Regions from separate parts of the Homo sapiens genome. Here regions 1 and 2 are each linked to region 3. Evidence: promoter capture Hi-C in 16 types of primary human blood cells and fetal thymus (Javierre and others, 2016). All regions are on one chromosome and are shown on one strand. The core of a region is centred on a gene start or on the middle of the fragment in contact, and the rest is flanking DNA. Distances in the headings are between cores, read along the strand shown. Region 1 overlaps ADI1 (acireductone dioxygenase 1). Region 2 holds the start of RNASEH1 (ribonuclease H1). Region 3 holds the start of TMEM18 (transmembrane protein 18).

Evidence for each region. Contacts are between HindIII fragments. The CHiCAGO score rates a contact against its expected background, and 5 or more counts as called.
Region 1: a contact is called between a fragment that was not itself captured here and the fragment with the promoter of TMEM18 in region 3, in 1 of 17 cell types (monocytes). The highest score is 5.6, in monocytes.
Region 2: a contact is called between the fragment with the promoter of RNASEH1 here and the fragment with the promoter of TMEM18 in region 3, in 1 of 17 cell types (monocytes). The highest score is 8.9, in monocytes.

The regions. Positions count from the first base shown.
Region 1 is chr2:3,511,026-3,513,795 of GRCh38, forward strand. All of the region lies in intron 2 of ADI1 (acireductone dioxygenase 1), which reads right to left. Among named protein-coding and RNA genes, the nearest start is that of ADI1, 7.1 kb to the right of the region's middle. The HindIII fragment of the contact is 2,134 bases long and covers 454-2,587 here.
Region 2 is chr2:3,556,890-3,559,666 of GRCh38, forward strand. It overlaps RNASEH1 (ribonuclease H1), which reads right to left and starts at 1,444. Exons shown (of 8, transcript NM_002936.6): 1 at 1,244-1,444; 2 at 1-15. The coding sequence starts at 1,371. RNASEH1-DT (RNASEH1 divergent transcript) reads left to right here and starts at 1,497. Exons shown (of 3, transcript NR_038429.1): 1 at 1,497-2,109; 2 at 2,559-2,777. RefSeq lists silencers at 1,106-1,205, 1,576-1,895 and an enhancer at 1,296-1,545. The HindIII fragment of the contact is 22,605 bases long and covers 1-2,777 here.
Region 3 is chr2:675,956-678,655 of GRCh38, forward strand. It overlaps TMEM18 (transmembrane protein 18), which reads right to left and starts at 1,451. Exons shown (of 5, transcript NM_152834.4): 1 at 1,334-1,451. The coding sequence starts at 1,390. TMEM18-DT (TMEM18 divergent transcript) reads left to right here and starts at 1,417. Exons shown (of 3, transcript NR_183417.1): 1 at 1,417-1,518. RefSeq lists enhancers at 726-1,491, 1,394-1,493, 1,524-1,593 and a silencer at 984-1,233. The HindIII fragment of the contact is 12,744 bases long and covers 1-2,700 here.

The DNA.
Region 1 (2,770 bases), core at 271-2,770, 2.8 Mb after region 3:
CAGTGTTGGAGATGGGGCCTGGTGGGAGGTGACTGGATCACGGGAATGGATTTCTCATGAATGGTTCAGCGCCACTCCCTTGGTGCTGTCTTCACCACAGTGAGTGACTTCTCACAAGATCTGGCTATTTAAAACTGGGTGGCACTTCATTCTCTCTCTTGTTCCCATTCCTGTTATGTGAGATGCCTGCTCCCACTTTGCCTTCTGCCATGACTGTAAGCTTCCTGAGGCCTCTCTAGAAGCAGATGGTGGTGCCAGGAAGCAGATGTTTCCTGTACAGCCTGAAGAACTGAGATGCAATTAAACCTTTTTCTTATAATTTACTTCTAAATTACACAGTAACTTCTTGTGAGATCTGGTCATTTAAAACAGTGTGGCACCTTGCTCTCTCTTTCATTCCCACTCCTGTTATGTAAGATGCCTGCTCCCTCTTTGCCTTCTGCCATGACTGTAAGCTTCCTGAGGCCTCCCCAGAAGCAGATGGTGGTGACAGGAAGCACATGCTTCCTGTAGAGCCTGCAGATTATAAATTTTCTTATAAATTACACAGTCTCAGATATTTCTTTATAGCAATGCAAGAACAACCTAATACAGAAAAAATGGTACCAAGGAGTGGGGCATTGCTATAAAGATACCTGAAAATATGGAAGCAGCTTTGGAATTGAGTAACACGCAGAGACTAGAAGTGTGTAGAAGGCTCAGAAGGAGACAGGAAGATGAGGGAAAGTTTGGAACTTTTTAGAGACTGGTTAACTCATTGTGACCAAAATGCTGATAGTCATACAGACAATAAAGTCCAGGCTAATGAGGTCTCAGATGGAAATGAGGAATTTATCGGGAACTGGAACAAACATCACACGTTTGCCTCAGCAAAGAACTTGGCTGCATTCTGTACATGCCCTAGGGATCTGCGGAAGTTTGAACTTGAGAGTGATGCCTAGGGTATATGGTAGAAGAAATTTCTAAGCACCAAAGTGTTCAAGATGTTTCCTGCCTGTTTCTAACAGCCTATGCGCAGATGCAAGGGCAAAGGAATGACCTGAAGTTGGAACTTATATTTAAAAGGGAAGCAGAGCAGAAAAGTTTGGAAAATTTGCAACTTGGCCACATGGCAAAGAAAGAAAAAGTTTTTGAGAGAGGATTTCAAGCAGGCTTGTAGAGCAACGACTTCCTAGAGAAATTCACATAACTACAAAGAAGCCAAGGGCTGACAGCCAAGACAATGGGGAAAAAACCTCAAAGGCATTTCAGAGACCTCTTCCTAGAGAAATCAGCATAACTTCAAACACAGCCAAGGCAATGGGGAAAAAACCTCAGAGGCATTTCAGAGACCTTTCAGCAGCCCCTCCCATCACAGAGCCAGAGGTCTAAAAGGAGAGAATGGTTTCATGGGTCAGGCCCAGAGCCCCTCTGCCCTACAGAGCCTCAGGACACTGCTCCCTGCATCCCAGCTGCTCGGGTTCTGCTAGGGTTCTGGCCTCAGATCAAAAGGGCCCAGGTACAGCTTGGGCCACAGCTCCAGAGGGTGCAAGCCATGAGCCTTTGTGGCTTCCATGTGTTATTAAGCCTGTGAGTGCACAGAGTGCAAGGGTTGAGGCTTGGGATTCTCCACCTAGATTTCAGAGAATGTATGGAAAAGCCTGGGTGTCTAGGCAGAAGTCTGTTGCAGGGTAGAAACCCTCATGGAGAACCTCTACTATGACAGTGCAGAGGGGAAATGTGGGATTGAAGCCCCCTCACAAAGTCCCCACTGGGGCACTGCCTAGGAGCTGTGGGAAGAGAACCACCATCCTGCAGACCCAAGAATGATAGATTCACTGGCAGCTTGCACCCTGCACCTGCAAAAGCTATAGGCACTCAAAGCCATCCCATGAGAGCAACCTCAGGAGCCCCTGCAAAGCCACAGGGACAGAGCTGCCTAAGGCCTTGGGAGCCCATTCCTTGCACCAGTGTGCCCTAGATGTGGGACATGGAGTCAAAGGGTATTATTTTGGAGCTTTAAGATTTAGTGGCTGCCCTGCTGAGTTTTGAACTTTCATGGGTCCTGTAGCTCCTTTCTTTTGACCAATTTCCCCCTTTTGGAATGAGAATATTTACCTAATGCCTTTACCCGCTTTGTATCTTGGGAGTAACTAACTTGTTTTGATTTTGCAGGCTCATAGGTAAAAGGAGATGAGTATCAGATGAGACTTTGGACTTGAACTTGGGACTTTTAAGTTAATGCTAGAGGAAGTTAAGACTTTGGGGGACTATTGGGAAGAGATTATTGTATTTTGAAATTCAAGAAGGGCATGAGATTTGGGAGGGGCCGGGGCAGAATAATACAGTTTAGATTTGTGTCTCCACCCAAATTTCATATTGAAATGTAATCCCCAGTATTGAAAGTGGGACCTGGTGGGAGGTGACTGGATCATGAGGGTGGATTTCTCATGAATAGCTTAGCACTATCTTCTTGGTGCTATCCTCACTACAGTGAGTAACTTCTTGTGAGATCTGGTCATTTAAAACAGTGTGGCACCTTGCTCTCTCTTTCATTCCCACTCCTGTTATGTGAGAAGCCTGCTCCCTCTTTGCCTTCTGCCATGTAAGCTTCCTGAGGCCTCCCCAGAAGCAGATGGTGGTGACAGGAAGCACATGCTTCCTGTAGAGCCTGCAGAACTGTGGGCCAATTAAATCTCTTTTCTTATAAATTACACAGTTTCAGGTATTTATTTATAGCAAAGCAAGAATGGCCTCATACAGACATTAAAAGAAAAAAGAAAGAAAATAT
Region 2 (2,777 bases), core at 194-2,693, 2.9 Mb after region 3:
GCTCTGCACTCATTCCTGGAAAAGATGTGCAATGTTATTTCCTTCTTCCTTCTCTAACTTATCCCCTTTTTTATTGAGATTCTTAAGGTTGGAAATACAGTTGTCCCTTGGTATCTGAGGGAGACTGATTCCAGGAAGTCCTCCACCCCATCACAGATACCAACATCAGAGGATGCTTAAGTCCTTTGCATAAAATGGTGTATTTGCAAATAACCCACACACATCTTCTTGCATGCTTTAAATCATCTCTAGTTTATAATACCTAATACAATCTATATAGTTGTATTGTCTTTTTATGCGTATTTTAAAACTGTATTCTATTTTAATTTTTTCCAAATATTTTTGATCTATGGTTAGCTGAAACTGAGGATGCAAACTGGATATAGAGGACCAATTTTTGCGTGAAAAGGGCAGAGTCGCACCTTATAGTTTTATCCTGCACGTCAGACTCTACACCTGTGTTCTACTGTATGCCAGCCAGCCAGCACACCAGCACCATAAGGCTTTCGTCAAACTCAAAGCATAACAAAATACTGCGGTCTTTGAAAAAAATATTAACCATTTCTTTACAACAAAAAGGTCAACTTCTGAGATGCTTCTTCCTCAATACTGTAGCTGCCGTGCATGGGGAAACACAGGTAACGAACTTTGGTATCTTGTAGTGGGAAGAGTTCTGGTGGTACAGTCAGAACAGCTGGGCTCAAGTCCTTTCTCTGTCAGTTACATGCCCTGGGAACTTCCTGACCCCAAGAACTATACCTGAAAGTGAGAATAATCCCTCTCACCTCCAAGGGTTGTTACAAGGATCCAACTGCAAATACTGGCTTATTAGAATTTGCCTTTTTTAAAAGGGAAGATTAGGTACTGAGTTCCAATCCCAATTTAGCTGGTACGGAAAGTCTTCTGGTAACGGGGGTTCGTTCTGATTACGTGTCACTTTTTGTTGCACTTTAACTGCAACAAAGATGGAGGATTAAACACAGGGTTTATTAGGCCACCCCTAACCTTTACGCGACGTTTCTGATATTTCAAACAAGTCTTCGGTGCGTTCCAGTCCCAGGCCATGAGCCTCCTGGAACCCCGCCGGCCGAGCAGGAAAACGAGGCGGTCCCCCGACCACCCACAGCCACAGCGCGCGGCACAGACTCGGACCGCCAGGCTCCCGCCGCCGGGGTTAGCCGGGCTCCGGCCTCCCTCGACCCCGATGCCGGCAGGGAGGCGCCTCGGCGGGCGGGCCACTCACCAGGTCAGAAAGACCCCGGTCTTGCGGCCCCTCCTCACGGCATAGAACATCCCGAACCCGCGAGAGCCGCGGCGGCAGGGCAAGGCGGCCAAGGCGACTCTGTGGGCCAGGAACAGAAGCCAGCTCATCGCTCACTCCCGGCACCGGGAAGCATTTCGACTCCCGGCCCAGCGTGGGCGCGAGCCGCCGGCGCTCAACACCGCACTTCCGTCACCGGCGCGGGAAGATGACGCACGTCTGGGCGGAGTCCTGATGAGGGCCGGGGCCTAGGGAGGGGCGGTGTCGTAGGGCGGAGCCCGGAGCTCGGCCCCTGACGAGCCCGAACTCGTCAACTTCCTGTCGGTACTTGAAGAAGCGGAGCCAGGGCTGAGATCCCGAAGGCGGGCGAGGTCTGGGATGGGGCGGGGCCTATGGGAGCGGGGCTGAAGCCCTGGGCCCGGCAGAGGAAGGTCGAGATGGACCATGTTGGGCCCCTTCTCTCCCCGCCCCCAGGCCGCAGTTCGGGGGCCACGCCCCGGCGTGCTCGGGTCACCGCGGGAAGCCCTTGAACCCCCTGGCGCCCGGCACCCACGTGCGGTAACCGCGGCTCCTCGAGAGCTCCAGGGATGCGGATCTACAGTAAGGGCTGTGGCCAGATGAATGAATGCACATTTTTTAGTGGGCAGAAAGATGTTAGAATTCATGAATTAGAATAAGCACAAAGGAGGGCGAGAGGGGAGGCCGTGGAAGCCGCATTCCTCCCCTTGCCTTGGGCGCCCACCCCCGAAGGGGCGCGTCCCCTCCCTGCTCCACTGCACGTGGGTGTTTAACCAGGGGATATCCAGTGCCTCAAGCACCACGACCCGGGAGAAAACTGAGTTGAGAAGGTAACTTTTAGAATTCTCCCCATTTGACCTTTTGCTCTGTAAGCAAATCAAGTAATTTTAAAAGTGTTCATGGGTTGGAGGGGCGTGGTGGCTTACGCCTGTAATCTCAGCACTTTGGGAGGCCAAGGCGGGTGGATCACCAGGTCAGGAGATCGAGACCATCCTGGCCAATATGATGAAACCCTGTCTCTACTAAAAATACAAAAATTAGCCGGGCGTGGTCGCCTGCGCCTGTAATCCCAGCTACTCAGGAGGCTGAAGCAGGAGAGGCGCTCGAACTCGAGAGGTGGAGGTTGCATCTGGGCGACAGAGCGTGATTCCGTCTCAAAAAAAAAAAAAAAGTCTCCATTGGCAAACATTGTTATTCGAATTATTTTTAAACCACTTTTCTTTAATTTTCTTAAGGTCTTCTAACAAGCCTTTTGCACACCTGCCATGTATTTTGTCAGGCCTTGGGGATGAAGGTGAGAAATTCGAGAATCCCCGGAGATAACACATCAGCAAATAGTGCGCAGGCAGAACAAGCTGTTGGAGGTGAGAGACACAGAGCAGAGAAGCACCCGCACCTGGAGAGTCAGGAGGGCCTCACATCAGAACGCCTGAGCAAATACAGTTTTGAAGGATACTAATTTTTTAAAAAGTTCATTCACATGAGTTAGACAAAGAGA
Region 3 (2,700 bases), core at 201-2,700:
ATAATTAAAGGAATTACCATCCTTTACGATGATAATTGGTTATGATAATTGGTGACGACAAGGAAATTAAGACGATTGCTCAAAGAGATGCACTTGGCTCAGCCCCAAAGGTAAAACATGAATCATCATTTCAGACTCCTTAGTCAGCACTGAAGACCTCAGGGAATCTTGAGCCATCGCCACGTGCAAGACTTGATTTTCTCCAACCTCTCTGCAATACACTGAACTCTCCAGACAGTGCCGCACTCCGCCGCCTCCTGGACTCCCCGGGACCCTGCTGTACCTGGGGACAGTGTCTGGCTCAGGGACCTGAAGTAGCCAGGCTCAGATCCACTGCTGCTCAGTCCCCACCTGATGCTCAGATGCCAATCCCAGCAGTCCTCAACCCTCCCCATCCCCTCCTTGAGCGCCCTCCTGCAGAAGACAAGCCCTGCCCTCCAAGCTGCAGCCCCGCCCTGCCCTCCAAGCTGCAGCCCCGCCCTGCCCTCCAAGCTGCAGCCCGGCACAGCCCTCCAGAACTCCTGTGTCACTACTCTCTGCTGGGGACCGCAGCGGCTTCTCCAGAGCCGCGCCATGACATAAGGACACAAGCGCATCTACTCCCATCAATGCACCCACCAGAAGACCAGAGGCACGGAGGTGAGGGGAGCACGGCTTTCTGCCCAGACCCCATCGAGTGCCCATGTCACCCCTTGGCGGCCACGTGGGGCGTGGGCTCCCCTGGGATCTGTCAGACGAACCCGGCACGGCGCACGCCCCGCCCACACTGGGCAGCGTTCCTCCGTGCCACCCCACACGATCAGGCTCCACCACGCACGCCCCGCCGCACTGCCAGAATCCGCCCACATGGCCCAAGCCCCGCCCGCAAGACGCTGGACTGGCCGGCGTGCACCTCCCACACGAACAAAGCCCTACCCCTCGCGCTCCGCCCACACAACTCAGCCACGCCCGCACGGTGCAGGACGCCAGCCCAGCCCAAGCCCGGGCCACAGAGCGCCGGAGCCAGCTCACTGCGCACGCTCCTCCACAAGGCCCCGCCCGGCCCCGCCCCTCCCCGCCCAACGGCCCAGGACCCCGCCTAGCGCTCGCGCCCCGACGCCCGGCCCCGGCCCCCTCCCACAGGGCCCAGGACCCCGCCCACAGCGCGCGCCCCCGACGCCGGCCCCGAGCCACTCCCACAGGTCTCAGGACCCTGCCCAGCGCGCGCGCTCCGCCACAAGGCCCCGCCCACGGCCGGGGCCTTCTTGGCCACAGGCCGGGTGCTCTGTGGGGCCTACCCTACGCCTCTCCGCCGTCCTCCCCCGAACTGGTGGTTACGCGGGCCGCGAGTTACCGTGAGCACGGCTGGGATGCTGACGGGGAAAGAGCTGACAGAGAAGGCGGACGGCATGGTGTTGGGAAGCCCGCTCTCACAGCAACCGCCGAACCCGGCCTGGCCAGAATCCACAGAGGAGGGCGCCAAATCCTCTCTCGTGAGATCTGCCCTTCTCACGAAACTTGCGCTTGCTTCCTCTCGCGGTAATTTCATGGCATTGCTAGGTCCAGATATCGCGATATTTCCTGGTGGTCGCTGTAATACGGAAAACTTACTACGCTGCTGTGGGACTTGTGCTCGCTCCGCCAGGAGGCCGAGGGCGTCTTTAGTTCGTTAACAGAGGAGCAGGCGGAGGCGGGTGGAATTTAGGAGGTTTGTTTCAAAGGCTCAGGGCGCTGTACCGCCACGCCAGCCCTGTCCCACCTGGGACTCCCTAGAAGGGTCAGAGCATCAATGAGGACGGTGTCCGCCCCGAGACCCTGCAGGAGCCGGGGACATTGCCCACTCCTCGGACCCTGCAGGACTTGGGAAGGTGTCTGCTCTCGCGACCCTAAGGGCAGTGCACTCTTAGTCTGGGTCAGCTTAGGGTTATCTGTCTTCACTTTGGAGATTTACCAGATGTTCTTACGCTTCACTTCGTTGTTCAACGACAGATACAAAAATATAAAGTTAATTTTCTTCCAGCGAATTTTTTCCCTTTATTTTAACATCTATACCCCAACTTTGACATTTTCAAATTAAACATTCTGTTATTTTAACATCATGAATTATTAAGTGTATATACTTTAATTGCATATGTTAGCTCTTGAACTAGTTTAATGTTTCTAAAAATAGTTCTAGTGGTGGACTTTTTTTTTTTTTTAATAGCTTTAACCCCTCCCAGATCTTTCTTAAAATCTTTCCACAGTGTGGTCATTTCTGCTTATGCTACTTAACATGCATTCTCTCATTTCAGTGTAGAAGGTCATGGTTTCTTCTTATGGGAAAACATTTCTTTCATTGATATTTTTCTCTATTCTTCCTGTATTCAACTCCAGGAACATCCCGTTAGGTAGATAGTGCATCTTCCTCTCTTTTGTGTTTCTCAACCTTCCTCTCAAAACATCACGACTGTTGTTGCTGAGTTTGGGAAATCTCGGGCTTGGCTTTCCTGGTTTTTTTTTTTTTTTTTTAAGACGATGTCTCGCTCTGTCGCCCAGGCTGGAGCACAATGGTGGGACCTCGGCTCACTGCAACCTCCGCCTCCTGGGTTCAAGCTATTCTCCTGCCTCAGCCTCCCGAGTAGCTGGGATTACAGGTGTTCGCCACCTCACCTGGCTAATTTTTTTTGTATTTTTAGTAGAGACGGGGTTTCACCATGTTGGCCAGGCTAGTTTTGAACTCCT